Regions from separate parts of the Homo sapiens genome. Here regions 1 and 3 are each linked to region 2. The links are contacts of gene promoters, found by promoter capture Hi-C in blood cells and fetal thymus (Javierre and others, 2016). All regions are on one chromosome and are shown on one strand. Each heading gives the region's core, a stretch centred on a gene start or on the middle of the fragment in contact. The rest is flanking DNA. Distances are from core to core; before and after follow the strand shown. Region 1 holds the start of TBC1D16 (TBC1 domain family member 16). Region 2 holds the start of CEP131 (centrosomal protein 131). Region 3 holds the start of EIF4A3 (eukaryotic translation initiation factor 4A3).

The links. Contacts are between HindIII fragments. The CHiCAGO score rates a contact against its expected background, and 5 or more counts as called.
Region 1: a contact is called between the fragment with the promoter of TBC1D16 here and the fragment with the promoter of CEP131 in region 2, in 2 of 17 cell types (total CD4 T cells and non-activated CD4 T cells). The highest score is 5.4, in total CD4 T cells.
Region 3: a contact is called between the fragment with the promoter of EIF4A3 here and the fragment with the promoter of CEP131 in region 2, in 2 of 17 cell types (non-activated CD4 T cells and naive CD8 T cells). The highest score is 11.2, in non-activated CD4 T cells.

What each region holds. Positions count from the first base shown.
Region 1 is chr17:80,034,493-80,037,192 of GRCh38, reverse strand. It overlaps TBC1D16 (TBC1 domain family member 16), which reads left to right and starts at 1,321. Exons shown (of 12, transcript NM_019020.4): 1 at 1,321-1,398. CCDC40 (coiled-coil domain 40 molecular ruler complex subunit) reads right to left here and starts at 551. Exons shown (of 20, transcript NM_017950.4): 1 at 502-551. The coding sequence starts at 530. RefSeq lists enhancers at 1-43, 943-1,062 and a silencer at 1,253-1,322. The HindIII fragment of the contact is 6,044 bases long and covers 1-2,522 here.
Region 2 is chr17:81,221,522-81,224,221 of GRCh38, reverse strand. It overlaps CEP131 (centrosomal protein 131), which reads left to right and starts at 1,257. Exons shown (of 26, transcript NM_014984.4): 1 at 1,257-1,453. RefSeq lists silencers at 665-1,034, 1,195-1,524 and enhancers at 886-1,555, 1,556-2,225, 2,226-2,700. The HindIII fragment of the contact is 19,797 bases long and covers 1-2,700 here.
Region 3 is chr17:80,145,628-80,148,454 of GRCh38, reverse strand. EIF4A3 (eukaryotic translation initiation factor 4A3) reads left to right here and starts at 1,327. Exons shown (of 12, transcript NM_014740.4): 1 at 1,327-1,662. The coding sequence starts at 1,494. RefSeq lists enhancers at 1-672, 673-1,385, 1,386-2,100 and silencers at 669-858, 1,699-1,748. The HindIII fragment of the contact is 5,955 bases long and covers 1-2,827 here.

The DNA.
Region 1 (2,700 bases), core at 72-2,571, 1.2 Mb after region 2:
TCGCGGGTCACCCCCAAGCCTGCGAGAGGGGATCTGTCCTTGCAGGAGGGAGGCGCGGGGCCGGGCTGGTCTCCGGCCACAGCGAGTGGCCCCGGAGCAAGGTCAGGGGCGGTATCCAACAGCCCCGCGCCCTGCAGAGCCCTCTACTCTTAGGAGGACTGCGCGCAGGGACCGCCACGCAGAGTGGTTGCCATGGTGACTGCAGAGTGAGCGGTCCCGGGTTTTAGAGGGAGTCGCGCGCTTGGAGTAGGGGAAAGAGGGAGGCCGAGAGAGGACAAAGGGACAGGAGGGGAGAAGTGAGAAGGGTTGGCGGGGGGGTGAGGGGCTGAACGCAGTGGACGGGAAAGGCCAGCAAAATGGCGAGAGAAGGGACACAGGCGAGAGGAAGGGGGAGTGGAGGCGAAGGGGCGAGGCAGGAGCCGACGCGGGGGCCACCTGGAGCGGTGAACGGAGAGCGCGGCCTGGCGACTCCAAGACCCGCTGCCCCTCGGCCCGGCTTACCGGCCCGCCGCGCCGCCCGGTTCCGCCATTTCCCGTTGCTAGGCGACGCTGTCAACATCCGGCCGGGCCGGGACCACGCGCGCTGCGAGGGCGGGGGCCGCCGGGGGCGGCGCGGCCTTTGTGCCATCTCCACGCACGCAGAGGCGCGCGCCGTCTCGACGTGTCGTCCCTTAGACTGTAATGATTAGAGCACGACCATGCTTTTCCTTTATCGCTCTCTGCGCCCGGGTCCCGCCTCGGCTGCGCTCAATTTCTGTAAAGCGACAGCGGCGTCAGCGTGTGCCCAGCGGGCGGCTCGAGGTCCCGAAGGGACCTGCCGGGCACCTGGGGACCCCGGACTGCTAAGCGCCCGGGAATGGCAGGCGGGCTGGGGGCACCGGGGGCCGGGGACCCCGCGCATGGCGAGCGCTTTTCCATCTCCTGCCCTAGGGGGCTCCGGTGCCCTTCTCCAGGGGTCCTACGGAGACTCCTTGCATGGACGCCCGGGGGGTCTTCCGGAGCGTATCTTCCCTTCCTAGTCCGAAATAGGAGAAATCTCCCTGCAGAGGGCGGCAGCGGAGGGCCAGCGCGCACGCGGAGCGTCCGAGGAGCCCTGCCTTTCCTTTGGGGACGCCAGGCTCGGGACGGGGCACAGTCCCCGAGGCCGGGACGCGGCGAGGCCTGAGGGAGGGCCAGCAGGGAACTAGAGGCTTGGGCCCAGGGCTGGGCCAGAAGGTGGGCGGGGAGACCGGCGGGGGCAGGCAGGGGCCGGGCCGGGGGCGGGCCCGGGGGCGGGCCGGGGGCCGGGCCTCCCCGCGCGTCCCCGCCCCGCCGCGCCTCACTGGCGGCGGCAGCGGCGGAGGCGACGGTGGCGGCTCTCGGAGCCGGCGCGAATCCGGCCCCCGCAGCGGGACCCGGGTGGGTATCGGGGCCCGGACGGGGCCGCGGGGGCGGGGTCCGAGGGGTCCACCGCGCAGCGAGCAGCGCCCCCTCGGCGGAGCTGGGGCGGGGGCGCGCGGGGCGCGTGGGGCGCGTGGGCCTGCAGCCGCGGGACCGGGGAGGGGCCGGGGTCCGGCCGCCGTCCTCGGGGTGCGGGGCGCCAGCAGGAGCGGGAGCGTTGTGGGAGGACCTGGATCACGGAGGGGCACCTGGGGACTTTTCCCCGCGGCGAGTGAGGGCGCCCGGGCCCGGAATGGGCCTAATTCGGGGAGACTGGTCCCCGCCTGTCTGGAGCGGTGGACCGGGGAACTTGCGGTCTTTGTCTGGCTGAATCGGCGGAGCAGACGGATGAGAACTTGTGGGGTGCCGGCGCGCGCCCACACAGCCTCCAAAGTGTGCGTCCCCCCAGCAGCGCGCGCTCAGCTTTCCCGGCCTGTCGGGCTTGGTGGTCTGGGCTGTTTAAGATCCGCGTGTCGGGATACTCACTTCCGTTCCGCCTGGGCTCCCTTGTTCTTTCCTTTGGGAAAAAAAAAAAAAGAAAAAGAAAGAAAGAACGAAAGGAAGGAAAGAAAAAAAGGAAAGGCAACTGAAGATTGCTAAACATAACCTAGGGGATCCTGCCGGAAGCCGCTGAATCCTGAAATCCTGTGATTCCCACACTCGGAAGCTGGTGTCGTATATTGGCCACAAAGTAGTTCAGATTTGATTCAGAAATAGGAAATGAATAGAAAAGACATAACAAAAGTTAGTCTCGCCTTATGGTAAAGTTTGTTTTACTGTCTGGGTCAAGTTCAAATGAGAAGCTGGGCTGATTGGCCAGCCTCTGCGACTTGATCCTGAAGATCTGCTTTCTTTTCTACCAGAAGGCTCCTAATTCTTTTATCTGGAATAAAAAGGGAACTCCGTCTTAAAGATGCTCACGTGAGGCGGCATATTGCCAGAGGGTGGGCGCAAAGACTGGGGGCTGGAGATTCCATTCCAAATCTGTTACTGATTGATCAGAACACTTTTTCAAATCCATGCCTCAGTTTTAGAAAATCCTCATTAGAAACGCTAACAGTAAAATTGGTGAATACTAAACACTTTTAAGAACCATGAAAGCTTTTGTAAATAAAGAATAAAGTGAGGAGTAACTTTTGGTATTAACTACAAAGTTCATTAATGGATGTTGTTTGCATCCTGAGCGTGGTTATTGTGCGCATATTTTTTTGTAAGTGGCATGTTTATGGTGAGACTATGGCTAACGAAAGTTTTTATGGCGAAAGTTTTTATGGCTGGGCG
Region 2 (2,700 bases), core at 8-2,507:
TTGATCCAGCAACCCCACTCCTGGGTATTTACACAAGAGAAATGAAAAGTTGTGTCCACACAGAAGCCGATGAGTGAATGTTTATGGCAGCGTCATTCATAATTGCCAAGCACCAGGAACAATCTCTGCGTCCTTCATTTGATGAATAAAACCATCAATAAATAAAACCATCTGAACCGGTGGTTCACACCGGTTACAGGATACCACTCAGCAATAAAGAGGAACCAGCATGAATCTCAAAATGCGAAGTGGTAGAAGCCAGACCCACAGGCGCGCTGCGCGACATCCCTTTTGTGTGACATTCTGGAAAAGGCTGCCTCTAGGGATGGAGAACAGAGAGAACTGAGCAGCCGCCACCAGCAGTCAGCAGGTACGGGATCCGGAGGGAGAATGTTCTGTAACTAAAGTTACACAACTCCACTGCACACCAAAAAATGTGGATTTTACTGAAACCAAACTTTTTATTTTACAGAGCACTGGACTTTTTAAAAAGCGGGGGCAGGGGAGACCAGTGTGCTGTGACTTTTAGGGGAAGGATGGCTTCCCTGGAGAGGACCTGGGCGGAATCCCCAGGGCTCCCGGAGAGAGGGGGAGTCACAGAGCGGCTACGCACGGGGCGCAGCGTTAAAACTTTGGAGAAGGAAAAAAAACAACAAAGCAGCGCGAAGGGAAGGAGGTCAGGGAGGTTAGCAAGGCGCCCACACGCCCTCGCAGTCGTACTGAGTAACGAGGGGAGTCGCGCACGTGGGTGGGGACAGAGCGGCCTAGGACACTGGGGGAGCCCCGGGCCGCGGGAGTGCGGCGGCCTGGGGGTGTCGGGGAGCCGAGCCGAGGCCGCGTGCTCCTCGCGCCCTCCCTGGTGTCTCCTCCCCAGGCCCTGCGTGCCCCGCCCACACCTGCCTTGCCCCGCCCACATCTGCCTCGCCCTACTCGCCCATCACACCCCCACCTCACGCCCCGCCCACAACCGCTGGGGCCCCGCCCCTGCCCGGCCAGCTCCTCCCGCCGCCCTCGGTCCCCCGCCCCCTATATGACCCGCCCCTTTCCAGCCGCGTCCAATCGGCCGCTCTCTGTAGTCGCGTCCCTCAGCCATCCGCCGCTCCTCCCACGCTTGAACTTCCCGAAGGACAGCCGAGCGGCCCAATGAGCTCCCGGGACGGCCTGAGCGGGAGCGTGAAGGGCCAATCCGGAGTCGGCGCGCGCAGGAAAGGCGGGCCGGCGTGACGGGCTGGGGAGGTGGTGCCAGGCTGGTTGCTAGCTGCCGCCGCTGCTCACCCCGGCCGTCCGGCCGCTTCATTGTCACCGGGCCTCGGGGCAGTGTTGGGGGTGGCGGGGCGCCAGGTCGCCGACCCGAGGTTTGGGCGCGACTGGTTCCGCATCCCCTCCCCGCCGGCCGAATCTGCAGGCCCCGCGCGCCAGGCAGGCTTCGCGGCTGCGCCCCCGGCCCGCGCAGGTGAGGGGGGCCCGGGCAAGGGAGGGGGTTGCAGGGCGCACGGAGGTTGGAGGGGTCCGGAGCCCGCGCAGGTGGGAGGCCCTGGTCCAGTGATGAAGTGATGGGGATCCGGGGCACGCACAGGTGAGTGGGGGGATCTGGTGCCCGCGCAATTGAAGGCGGGATCCGGGGGAAGTGAGGGGGATCCAGGGTGCGCACAGGTGAGGGAGGTCCGGGGCCCGCGCAGGTGAAGACAGGCTCGTGCCTGAGGGTGTGGGTCCCCACCTCCATCCCCTCCACCCTCTCCACCTCCCTCCACTCCCCTCCGGTCCCCAGGACAACATGGAGTCCAGTCCCGGCATCTCTGGCCCGGCTGCCTTAAGCCCTGGGGAAAATGGGGAGATGGGAGCTGCCCTGAGGACAAGTGGAGGGCTCTGCTCTGCGCGTGGGCTCTGGCCTCTCTGTCCAGGGTCAGGGTCAGGGTCAGGGTCAGCCCACCCTGGGAACCAGGTCCTGGCGCTGGTCATCAGTCCCCGCCCCTTCAGGTCCTGGGAGGGACACAGTTTTATCCAAGATGTAGTGGCCTCCCAGGCCTCCCTTCTTCTGGCTTGGAGGTTTCCATGGAGAGGCCCCGTTCGCCATCCCAGAGCCGCTTGCAAGTGTGGCTGGGAGAGCAGAGTCCTGGGCTCCAAGGGCTTGCATGGGTCCAGCCAGGGGTGGACAGTGCCCTGCAGGAGGAGGGTGTTAAGTTTCTTCCGCACAGCCGGAAGTGCATAACTGAGGACTGGGACCTGGTCAGTGGCAGGGTCAGCCTCTAGGGAGTAGGGGTATCCATCGCTCCGTGGAAGGGACCTTGGGGGACCTGCTGTGGGGTGCCGGGCTGAAGGAAGCCCAGGGTGACCTTGGGCGATAGGCTGGGTGCCTGCTGGCCTACTGGAGGCCACCGTGGCAGGGAGGTAATTCTCGAGGTTGGTCCCTGGCGCCAGCTTCTCCCGTTCATCTACGGGTTCAGCTGAGTGCCTTTCCCTGCAGGTGCTGGGGTTGCTCAGGAGCCACACAATTCATAAACCAACTGTGTGCGGCCACAGGAAGGGAGTCCGAGCCGGATGGGGAGTGAAGAGTGATGGGTGCTCAAGGAAGGCCTCTGAGTGCAGGGAGGGAGTGTCCTGAGACCTAGAGGCAGGGGACTGGCCGGGGCCAAGCTGGCTGAGTTTGAGGAGAACCAGGGAGGCTGTGTTGGCTAAAGCCACAACAAAGGGGCACAGCAG
Region 3 (2,827 bases), core at 78-2,577, 1.1 Mb after region 2:
CTGCTTCAAAAGGCGTTAGAGGAGCTGGGTACGAAGAAGCACTTAAAGTGTCAGATAAGAAAGCGGTTAGTGGCTGCGCGTGGACACCTGTGGTCCCAGGTGCTCTGGAGGCTGAGGCGGGAGGATCGCCTGTGCTCGGGAGGTGGAGGCTGCAGTGAACCGAGATCGCGCCATGGCACTCCAGCCTGGGCGACAGGGCCAGACTGTCTCAAAACAAACAAACGAACAAACAAAAAGCAGGTTAAGATGCACAACTGGTTAAAGTTCTGCTGGGCAATTAAAAAATGATCCCGTCTGGGTTATCTTTGCTGCAGGACACGCATTAGCAGCACCGTCTACTGACAAGTGGCCTTCATTAAGAGCAAATTGCAGGCTCAGCATGTATTTTATTTATAACAGCTGCTTGCCGGGCACAGTGGCTCATGCCTGTAATCCCAGCACTTTGGGAGGCCAAGGCAGGCGGATCACCTGAGGCCCCGCAGTTCAAGACCAGCCAGGACAACCCTAACCCCCGCCTCCCCCAACCCCGTCTCTACAAAAAAATTTAAAAAATTAGCCGGGCGTGGTGGCGCGCGCCTGAGGTCCCAGCTACTCCAGAGGCTGAGGCGGAGGCTACAATGAACCCTGATCCTACCACTGCACTCCAGCCTGGGCGACGGAGCGAGACCCTGTCTCCAACTCACCAGGCAAACGGTGAAGACACACCCAGGCGCGTCCCCTAAGAGGGACGCCGGCTTCAGGGGCCCTGGCCCTCCCCAGCGCAGACCCGCCGGAGCCCAGCGCCGCGCCGGGGCCCACCACCGGCGGCCGTGAGGGTTTCCACTCGAATCTCCCCGGCGAGCTGGGCGCCTCCACTACGGGTCTGCGACGCAGTCCACCCACTGCGGGCCCGAGAGAGGACCCGTGCTCGTCATTTTTATTCGAGGCGGGGCTATCTGGGGACCCCGCCCGGAGCGGAGGCCCCTCGCGGCCCCAGCCTGTTTCCAGGGAATTCAGGTCCACACGCCGCTCAAAGAACCTCAGCGCCCCAGTCCGCGAAATCCCGCGGCCGGTACGAAACACCGCCAACTTTAGAAGTACCACCCCCTCCATCCCTTTCGTAAGGAACTGGGTGCCCCGCCCTCAACGAGATCCCGCGGGAACTGCATATGGCGCGAGAGCAGAAACACCTTACTTTTCCCTGCGGCAAACGCCCAGTTCCCTTTCACGTGACGAAGAGTGCCCCGTCCCCCAGAGGCGTGGCCGCGTCGCGCGTACGCACGTACGCACGTACGCACGCACGTCTCTCGCTTTCGCATACTTAAGGCGTCTGTTCTCGGCAGCGGCACAGCGAGGTCGGCAGCGGCACAGCGAGGTCGGCAGCGGCACAGCGAGGTCGGCAGCGGCACAGCGAGGTCGGCAGCGGCAGCGAGGTCGGCAGCGGCACAGCGAGGTCGGCAGCGGCAGCGAGGTCGGCAGCGGCGCGCGCTGTGCTCTTCCGCGGACTCTGAATCATGGCGACCACGGCCACGATGGCGACCTCGGGCTCGGCGCGAAAGCGGCTGCTCAAAGAGGAAGACATGACTAAAGTGGAATTCGAGACCAGCGAGGAGGTGGATGTGACCCCCACGTTCGACACCATGGGCCTGCGGGAGGACCTGCTGCGGGGCATCTACGCTTACGGTGAGCGGGCGCGGGCCGCGGGGGCCAGCCGGGGGCGAGTCGGGGGCGAGCCGGGGGCTGAGGGCCAGACTGGTGACTCCCGGGCCGGCCCTGCGCTCCGGAGGTCGTGGTCAGGGTCGAGGCTCGGGGGCCAGTGACGTCCGACCCCCACCCCCACCCCCGTCCTCGCCCTCACGCCTGGCTGTGTCGGCGCTTTCGGTGTGTGTCCCCCGTGCAGAGCTCGGCGCTGGGTCTGTCGGGGGCTGCAGCCGCTTCGAGGCACCTCAGCGTCCTTCATTCAGCAGATAACTGATTTCTACCTATTAGCTTTTCTAGGTACTGGGGTTTTGGCGGTAAACCGGAAGGGTTTGCGCCTTTACGGGTTTTGAATTTCGTTTGGGGGGAAAGCATACTGTCAGGTTGCCCAGGCAACCTGAAGAACCTGAAGCGGGGTAATTGAATAGAGTGGGACTGGGAAGGAGGAGAGAATTAGTAAAGCAGAGAGGTAAGGGGGTTCGCAGGAGGGGGTGCCATTTGAGCAGAGTTCTGGATGAAGGAGACTGTTATGAGAAGAGGGAAGAGCAGTTGGGGCAGAAGGAACAGCTGGTGCCAGGGCCTTGCAGCCCTTAGCCAGCTGCATTCCAGGAACTGAAAGAAGTCCCCTGTGGTGGGATTTTGGAGAGCTAGTCGGGGCAGATCTAGCAAAGACGTGTAGGGTGACGAATAATTTGAATTTCATTTAGAAATCTAGTGGGAAGCCAGTGGAAGGTTTTAAGTAGCTATGTGACACGATCACATTTACAGTTTTAAAGATTCTTCTGGGTGTCTGTAGATTTGAGGTGAGGCGAGGCAAGGCAGGAGAGGAAACAAGAGAGTTGGGAGCTTTTGCTGCAGTTCAGGGAAGAGAGGATTGTGCTGCCTTGGAGATGGAGTACCAGGGAGCTGACAGCATTGGCTGATGGATTGAACGTGAGTGACAGAAGGAGGAGAGTTGGAGTGTTTTGAGTAACCGGTGGTTGATGCTGCAAACATTTGGCTAGGTAGGCAGCACTCCAGAGAGTCAGAATCAGGAGCTGTCTCTTGGTATGTTTGAAAGATGTGAGGAAGTTGAGGGAGAGCCTGGAGAAGAGGTTGGGTTGGGCACATAGATGGGAATGACCAGCATCTGGGATAAATGGCCTGTGTT